3 separate regions of the Homo sapiens genome follow, and all the other regions are linked to region 2. The links are contacts of gene promoters, found by promoter capture Hi-C in human tissues and cell types (Jung and others, 2019). All regions are on one chromosome and are shown on one strand. Each heading gives the region's core, a stretch centred on a gene start or on the middle of the fragment in contact. The rest is flanking DNA. Distances are from core to core; before and after follow the strand shown. Region 1 overlaps XPNPEP3 (X-prolyl aminopeptidase 3). Region 2 holds the start of ADSL (adenylosuccinate lyase). Region 3 overlaps MIEF1 (mitochondrial elongation factor 1).

Region 1 (2,700 bases), core at 156-2,655, 540 kb before region 2:
CAGCAGATATATACCATGAAGTGCAGAAAACTGTGGATCAAGGAGGCCAAAGGACTGTACAGTTCGTACAAAAACACAAGAAAGTGTAATTGGATAATTCAGCTGTCTGTTTAAATCAGTACCAACCCTTCACTGATCATTGTAAATGTTTGGATTCTGTGTATGCATTTTTTTAGAGACAGTGTTTGCTCTGTCACCAAGGCTGGAGTGCAGTGATGTGATAATACTTCACTGTAACCTTAAACTTTTGGGCTCAAGTGATCCTTCTGCCTCAGCCTCCAGAGTAGCTAGGACTACAGGCATATGCCACAATGCCTGGCTAATTAAAATATCTTTTTTTGTAGAGGTGAGGTCTTGCCATGTTGCCAGGCTGGTCTCTAACTCCTCGCTGCCTCACGTGATCCTCCCACCTTGGCCTCAGTGCTGAGATTATAGGGGTGAGCCACTATGCCCTGCTTGTCTATGTATTTTGATTATCTATATGATATTGAGAAGTGAAGTAACTGTTGTCAACTCAGGATTACTGTTTTATCAAAAAATAGAGTTAATGTTGGTTATGGGGGTAGAGTGAACTGTTGTGCTAATTCCAGGTTTAGAATTAGCCAGAGCTATTTTGCTAAAGTTCCTTCCTTGGTCAAGGTGTGGCAGGAAACATACTGACTGAAAGTGTTAAGAGGATGCTGGACATGTTGGCTCATGCCTGTGATCTTAGTGTTTTGGGAGGCTGAGGATGGAAGATCTCTTGAGGCCAGGAGTTCAACACCAGCCTGGATAATATAGTGACACCCCATCTCTACAAAAACCTAAAAACAGCCATGGTGGTATGTGCCTGTAATCCAAGCTACTCAGGAGGCTGAGGCAAGAGTATCCCCTAAGTCCAGGAATTCAAGGTTGCAGTAAGCTATGATCTCACCATGCACTCCAACCTGAGCAATAGCGAGACACTGTCTCAAAAAGAAAAAACAAAACAAAACAAAACAAAACAAAAAAAAAACCATTAGGAAGGCAGGAAGCACATAAAAAGATGCCCAACACCACTAATCATTAGGGAAATACAAATCCAAACCACAGTAAGATACCACTTCACACACATTAGGATTGGCTATTGCCACAAAAACAGAACAAATGTTGGTGTAGAGTGGAGAAATTGAAACCCTTGGTGCGTTGCTAGTGGGAATGTGAAACGGTGCAGCCACTATGGATAACAGTATGGTGGTCCTCAAAATATTAAACATAAAATTACCATTTGATCTAGCAACTCCAGTTGTGTGTATATACCAAATGGAATTAAAAGAGACTTGAACACAAGATATTTGTACACTTATGTTTACAGCAACATTATTCACAATAGTAAAAAAAAAAAAAAGATAGAAACCAAATGTTTATCAATGGATGAATAGACAAATAAAATATGGCATACGCATACAATGGAATATTATTCAGTCTTTAAAAAGAATGAAGCTGGGCATGGCAGCTCATACCTGTAATCCCAGCACTTTGGGAGGTCAAGGTGGGCGGACTGCTTGAGCTCAGGAGTTCGAGACTAGCCTGGACAACACTGAGAAACCCTGTCTCTACAAAAAATTTAAAAAATTAGCAGGCATAGTGGCATGCACCAATGGTCCCAGCTACTTGGGAGGCTAAGGTGGGAGGATCACTTGAACCCAGGAGGTCGAGACTGCAGTGAGCTGTGATCATGCTACTGCACTCTAGTCTGGGCAACAGAGCGAGACTCTATCTAAAAAACAAAAGTGAAATTCTAATGGAAGAAATTTAAAAACATTATGCTAAGTGAGATAAGCCAGTCACAAAAAGCCAAATGTTGTATGATTCCATTTATATGAAGTAGCTAGAATAGGTAGATTCACAGAGAAAGTAGAGGTTACTGGGGGCTGGAGGAGGGGAGAATGGGAAGTTATTATTTATCTGTACAGTTTCTATTTGGAATGATGGAGAAAGTCGGGAAAAAGTGGGCACAACAATGTGAATGTACTTAATGTCATTGATTTGCATACTTAAAAACGGTTAAAATGATATATTTTATGTTATGCACATTTCACCACAGTAAAAAGATTTTTTTAAATTAAGTCAATGGCCAACACCTTGGAGAGAATAAATGAAATAGGGAGTTTTGGGATAGTTTCTATCAGTTTGCCAGTGAGATTTATGGTTTACACTTGGTCTCTGTGAAAACTCTCGGGGGGCTTTACTGTTACGTAGCAGGAATATGATTATGTGACCAAAAAAACAAAAATCCCTAGCTGAGATTCCATTTTGGAGTCTCTGATTCTGAGGTAGTCTGTTGCATGTGCCATGGACTGAATTGTGTTTCCCGCAGAATTAATGTGTTAAAGCTCTAATCTCTATGTCTTTAGGAGGTAGTTAAGGTTAAATTAGGTAATTAAGGGTGGGGCTCTAATTTGATAGGACCATGGCCTTGTAAAAAGGCCCTCTTTCACTGTCATGTAAGGACACAGCAAGAAAGCCGCCTTCTGTAAGCCGGGAGAGCCCTCACCAGAAATGGACCATGATGGCACCTTGATCTCGGACTTCCAGACTGCAAAATTATGAGACAATACATTTCTCTTGTTTAAGCCATGCAGACTGTGATATTTTGTAATGGCAGCCTGAGCAGAGTATGACAACACTGGTGATTCCTAATCTGTAAGAGAAAGATACATCCTGCCTGGCCCTCACCTA
Region 2 (2,700 bases), core at 184-2,683:
AGAATATCAGATGAAATAGAAAGAGTACACACTAGTACATCACAAACCACAACACATGATTAAGGTCTACTACTATCGCTATCTACGCCAAGAGTTTATTAAGTTGATGCTTCATTCTTCCATCTGTAAAACAGGTACAGTCATAGTATTTCATACCTACTCTTCAGGGTTGTTTGGAGGATTAATAAGCAACCATGTGTAAAGGGTTAAGACCTGGGTCTCAGAAGGCACTATCTGAATGTCTGCTATTATTGTAGTGTATCGCCCAATATTTTGGAGGGCAGTGATAAGGGGAGGGAGGGAATCTAGAATGAAAGTTTCCTGTTTGGAGAGTTCCATGGTACAGGTCCTAGGCCCGAAGTCAAATTGTTTCCATGTTTACTGTGCCGTTTGAGAGGGCATTGCCAACTTGCTCGTTGTGGCACTTTCCTCTGAAACTTGAGGAGAAACATTATCGCTCTCTGGATCACCTTCAGTTTGCTTCAACTCTTCTGGAGCTATTTCTGAAACCGCTGGGCTAAGAAGTTCTCTATGCAGCCCTTAGAAAAGAAATTATAAACCCCGTTTAATAAACCCCTACCCGGAGTCTTCTCCTAAGAGGCAAAGCGGAGGCCAGTGAGGCAGAAACGGTGGCCTAGAAAACAAGCATTCCAGTCCTGTCACTAACTACACAGGCACTGTGGAAAACCAAGGGGCTACGTGCTCAGCTCAGGCTCTGGAGTGCACCCAGGTTCAAATCCCAGTTCCGTTCTTAATAGCTGGATGGGCTAGGGCAAACAACAAGCTGTCCGGGCTTTGTTCTCCCCTGCAATGTGGGAAAAACACCATCAAGCCTGCAAGATCTTCATGGATTACACAAGAAAAGATTAGTGAAATAATGAGCACAACAGTACGAAACAAGCGCTCGGTGTCTGTGGTTAGCAGCGTACTCCTGCGGGGATGGCCAAAATGAATTCCCTGAAACTACAGGCTGAATTTCTCCCAGCCTCCTCCGCGTCTCGAACCCTCTCGGACTGAGAACACGTGAGGCAACAGGTGGCGGCTCCCGGATCTCCTGCCCTTGCTTTCCTGGGGCCGCAGCTCCTCAGGACAGGGAACACCCAGCTGAAAATAGCCGGGCCGCAGCTCCGGGGTGGCTAAGCCCAGCCCGGAACAGAGCCCGGCACGTGCTGGGGCGGGCCCGTCCCTCCCGGCCCAGCCCCTCAGCCCGGGATCCGTTACCTGCTCGGCCTCCGCCAGCCACAGCCACAGCTGCCGCCATGTCCGGAATTTATACCTGTCGCTAAACACGAAGCACATCTCCGGGCTGGCATAGCGGGAGGCAAGAGGTGAGCGGTAGCTGTCGGGCGAACCATGATCGCCTCCAGCCGCCATCCCAACCCTGCGACCCCGCCAGGGTGGACTGGACCAGGGAAGAGCGGAAGCGGAAACCTGGAGGCCAGGGCAGGACGGGGCGGGGCGGGACTTCCTTCACGCGGTCTCGCTCTCTGGGTTCCGGGCGCCCTGGGCGCTGCCGGCTGCGGAGAATCTCCGCTGCTTCTGCCTGAGAATTGACTTGGTTCGCTTCTTTGACCAGAAACATGATTGATGCTTCCTACGTTACTTAGCCGCGCTACACTTTAGTTTTCCTGTCTGAAAAGAGGTACATTAAGACTTCCTTGGCCGGGCGCGGTGGCTCACGCTTGTAATCCCAGCACTGTGGGGGCCCCAGACCGGAGGATCGCTTGAGGCCGACAGATCGAGACCAGCCTGGGCAACACAGGGAGACCCTCCCGTCTCTAAAAAACAAAAAGCAAAAAAAAAAAAAAAAAAAAAGGCCTGCCTTTCGGGTTGTGCGGATTCAGTGTTAGAGCGGTGTCTGGCACACTTGGAAGGCCGTGTGTACGCTTGCTGTTACTCTTATTACTGTCGCCCCACCCACTCCTGCCCGCGGCGCACCGAGCTCGGCTCTAAGGAGAAATGAAGATACCCAAGGGAAATCGGCATTTACTGCGCCCCCAGTGAGCCGGCTGCGGTGGCCTACGCCTGTAATCCCAGCACTTCGGGAGGTCGAGGCAGGCAGATTTCCTGAGCTTAGGAGTTTGAGACCAGCCTGGGCAACACGTGAAACCCTGTCTCTACTAAAATACAAAAAATTAGTCGGGCATGGCGGCCTGTACCTGTAGTCTCAGCTACTTGTGAGGCTGAGACAGGAGAATTTCTTGAACCCGGAAGGCGGAGGTTGCAGTGAGCCAAGATCGCGCCACTGCACTCCAGCCTGGGCGACAGAGCGAGACTCCGTCTCCAAAAAATAAAAGAATTAAATAAATAAATAGAAATAGAAACACTCAAGTGGCCCCCCCCCTTTTTTTTTTTTTTGACAGGGTCTTGCTATGTTGTTCAGTCTGGAGTGCCAGTGGGGTGATCACACAGGAAAGGGTTCATCTGGAGCTGTAAGAGCCAGGTGTCTCAGCTGGGCACGGTGACTCACGCCTATAATCTCAGCACTTTGGAGGCTGAGCTGGGCAGATCGCTTGAGTCCAGGAGTTGGAGACCAGCCTGAGCAACATGATGAAACACTGTCTCTACAAAAAATACAAAAATTAACTGGGTATGGTGGTGTGCACCTGTAGTCCCAGCTACTTGGGAGGCTGAGGTGGGAGAATCACTTGAGCCCAGGATGTTGAGGCTGCAGTAAGCCATGATTTTGCCACTACAGCT
Region 3 (2,700 bases), core at 3-2,502, 830 kb after region 2:
TGTAACCTCCGCCTCCCGGGTTTAAGTTATTCTCCTGCCTCAGCCTCCCGAGTAGCTGGGATTATAGGCGCCTGCCACCACGCCCAGCTTATTTTTATCTTTTTCGTGGAGACGGGGTTTCACCATGTTGGCCAGGCTGGTCTCGAACTCCTGACCTCAAGTGATCCACCCGCCTTAGCTTCCCAGTGCTGGGATTACAAGCATGAGCCACCGCACCCAGCCTCCTTCCAATGTTTTATGTGAAATTTGGTCAGAGATGCAAGCTTGGGAAAACTTAAATTTTTTTAATACTCATGGCAGGGAAACCAAATCCTTTATCTCAATGAATAATCTATACTTTTGCAACACTCTATCAATCCTCTCCTCTCCCTTACCTCTAACGGATACCCAGTGGGTACACAGGAACCCTGTCAAGCTCTACCCCATACCTTCTAGATTCATCCAGGATGGTACTCAGGCATACAGATTTTTTTTTTTTTTTTTAACTCTCATTTGAGTCTGACCAACAGACAGGGTAGATGAGCTCTCTCAAGATTCTCAGCTTTATGTTTTTTGTTCCCTCTCAATACCTTTATGCAAATGAAACTGAAACCACCATAAGAAATCCTTGTTAAGGGGAAAAGAGGCAAAAAGACCTCTAAATATAGTCAAGGTTAACCCTAGTTCTCAATTTCCTAATCTGTGACAAAAGAGGGGCAGGAATCTCTACCCTAAATTGATGTTGAGGTATCGATGCTAAAGAGTCATTTCCTGTTACTATCGTTGGGAAGGAATGAGACAGCTGCAGAGAGCTTCACCAGAACCTCAATGATGGAGAGGTAGTCATTGAAAAAATAAGACAACTTGACGGAAGGAAAACAAAATACTGAATGGGCAGATGAGAAACAGAATTATCATCAGAGTCTTGCTACAAACAGGGAAAAACACAAACCAAGATGACACACGGACATGGTAGATTAAACATTCCTCCCCACCTTCAGGATACATTTACATTGCAATAAATACTGCAATCTCAGCAGCGGCAAACAAGGAGGAATGTAGGAAATGCCCACCTCCTCCCCTCTGTCTTATCTGTGTGCTCTCTTCCTTGGTAGCACCGATCTCCCCAGGTGCTGGGTGAGAAACAGGACAGGGGGAAGAGGTCCGTGCATGCTCACTTGCCCTCTGGCCGTGCCCGGAGCGCTCAGCAAACACCCCTCTCACATTCCTATGGCAGACGCTGGAGGATGAAGGGCTGGCTGTTGGGTCTGTTCTTGCTCTAAGGCCACATCCTAGAAAAGCAGGGCCTGTCTGGGTAGAAAACATGGCCACCAAACCCCAACTAGTGACTGGATTTTCCAGCTGACATTCAGTCGACTGTCTACCTCCATCATCCTCACCTGATGTCTAAGGCTGCGTTCCTTCAAGGCCTTGTCCTGATTGGCAATAAAATAAGGAAAAGGTGTGAAAACCAGCATTCATGATGAAGTGGTGCCCTGGCAGTCCCCATCCTTGTCTGTCTGACCCCTGCAGCCACAGATGACGAGCAGACACTGGGCACACAAACCCTTCACTAGGCCCTTAACCAGCTCTGGTTCCCTACTCTGCACTTCTGCTAATAGCCACCAAGAAATTCAACCTGCAAATAACTTTGCATTCAGCTTATCCTGTGTGGGTCATTAACAGTGTTCCCATGAGAGACATTCTCAGCATTTATGAATGGGTCAGGAGGTTGGGGGGAGGATGGACTTCTACTCCAGGAACCGTGGTCAAAGGCCAACTCTTCTACCAGCCTCACTCCCAGAAACCCTAAATACTGTCTCAGCACTCGCTCTGTAGAGTTCAGCTTTGAAACATGCTATCACAGCTCTTCAGTGGCATTCAACTAAAAGGCAACATCTTAATTAGGCAGATATGCTCCAGGGACAAGAGCAAAACAGAAGGCATGAACGAGAGAGGAAAAAATAGAAAAGACACTGAATAGGAACAGGCAAACGGGCAAGGCAGACCAGATAGAGGCAGCAAACATGGGCCAAAACGCAAAACACCAAGTGGTCCATCAGCTCAGGCCAGCACGCCACCTTCTCAATTCATTCCAGAAAAATTAGCCTGGAGCCAGGGGGCGGCAGAGAGCACAGTGATTGGTAACAAAAATAGGAAGAGTTGGGTAACAAAATAGGAGACGAAAGAGATGTCATTCTAATCAGCATGAAGTGACCAGGGTGATGATCAGCAAGACACCAGGCAGCAGGAACCCTGTGAGGCACCAACTAGGTAGCCAAGTGTATCTAACGGAGAATCCAGGGCCTGACCACCAACACCCGCTTTGGCCTTCACCTGCCCTACGTCTGCAGCAGCACCTCTGGCTCAGACAATGAGCAATACAGAGTGTATCCTAATTCGTCTATTTCTTCAGGGGTGAGCTCTGCAAATAAGTTCACCTTGGGGTTTAGGGCACTGGGCAGGACTCCAGCCTCTAAGTAGCTGATAAGTCCCCTCAAGGCCTGCAGGAAACGGTCGGCCAGCATATCCGGAGACCAGTCAGCCTCCTCCTGGGCCAAGTGGAGGATGACATTGGTTAGCTGGCTGGCAGTGAGGTGGCCCAGAGCCGGGGTGGACTTGCATATGGCCTTGAGGATCTTGAGGCACAGAGATCGGCAGCCCGAGTCAGCCTGGTCCAGAGCCCGCAGGCGTGCCGTCTCCGCGGGACGCAGGCTCAGC

What was found. Contacts are between HindIII fragments. The study calls those that stand out against the background at their distance.
Region 1: a fragment that was not itself captured here is called in contact with the fragment with the promoter of ADSL in region 2 in 1 of the 25 tissues and cell types used here (dorsolateral prefrontal cortex).
Region 3: a fragment that was not itself captured here is called in contact with the fragment with the promoter of ADSL in region 2 in 1 of the 25 tissues and cell types used here (dorsolateral prefrontal cortex).

The regions. Positions count from the first base shown.
Region 1 is chr22:40,887,303-40,890,002 of GRCh38, reverse strand. All of the region lies in intron 4 of XPNPEP3 (X-prolyl aminopeptidase 3), which reads right to left. Among named protein-coding and RNA genes, the nearest start is that of DNAJB7, 27 kb to the right of the region's middle. The HindIII fragment of the contact is 5,151 bases long and covers 1-2,700 here.
Region 2 is chr22:40,345,233-40,347,932 of GRCh38, reverse strand. It overlaps ADSL (adenylosuccinate lyase), which reads right to left and starts at 1,433. Exons shown (of 13, transcript NM_000026.4): 1 at 1,222-1,433. The coding sequence starts at 1,374. RefSeq lists enhancers at 378-890, 891-1,404, 1,405-1,918 and a silencer at 1,091-1,180. The HindIII fragment of the contact is 18,864 bases long and covers 1-2,700 here.
Region 3 is chr22:39,513,945-39,516,644 of GRCh38, reverse strand. MIEF1 (mitochondrial elongation factor 1) reads right to left here. Exons shown (of 6, transcript NM_019008.6): 6 at 1-2,700. The coding sequence ends at 2,322. Among named protein-coding and RNA genes, the nearest start is that of ATF4, 5.3 kb to the left of the region's middle. The HindIII fragment of the contact is 4,706 bases long and covers 1-2,700 here.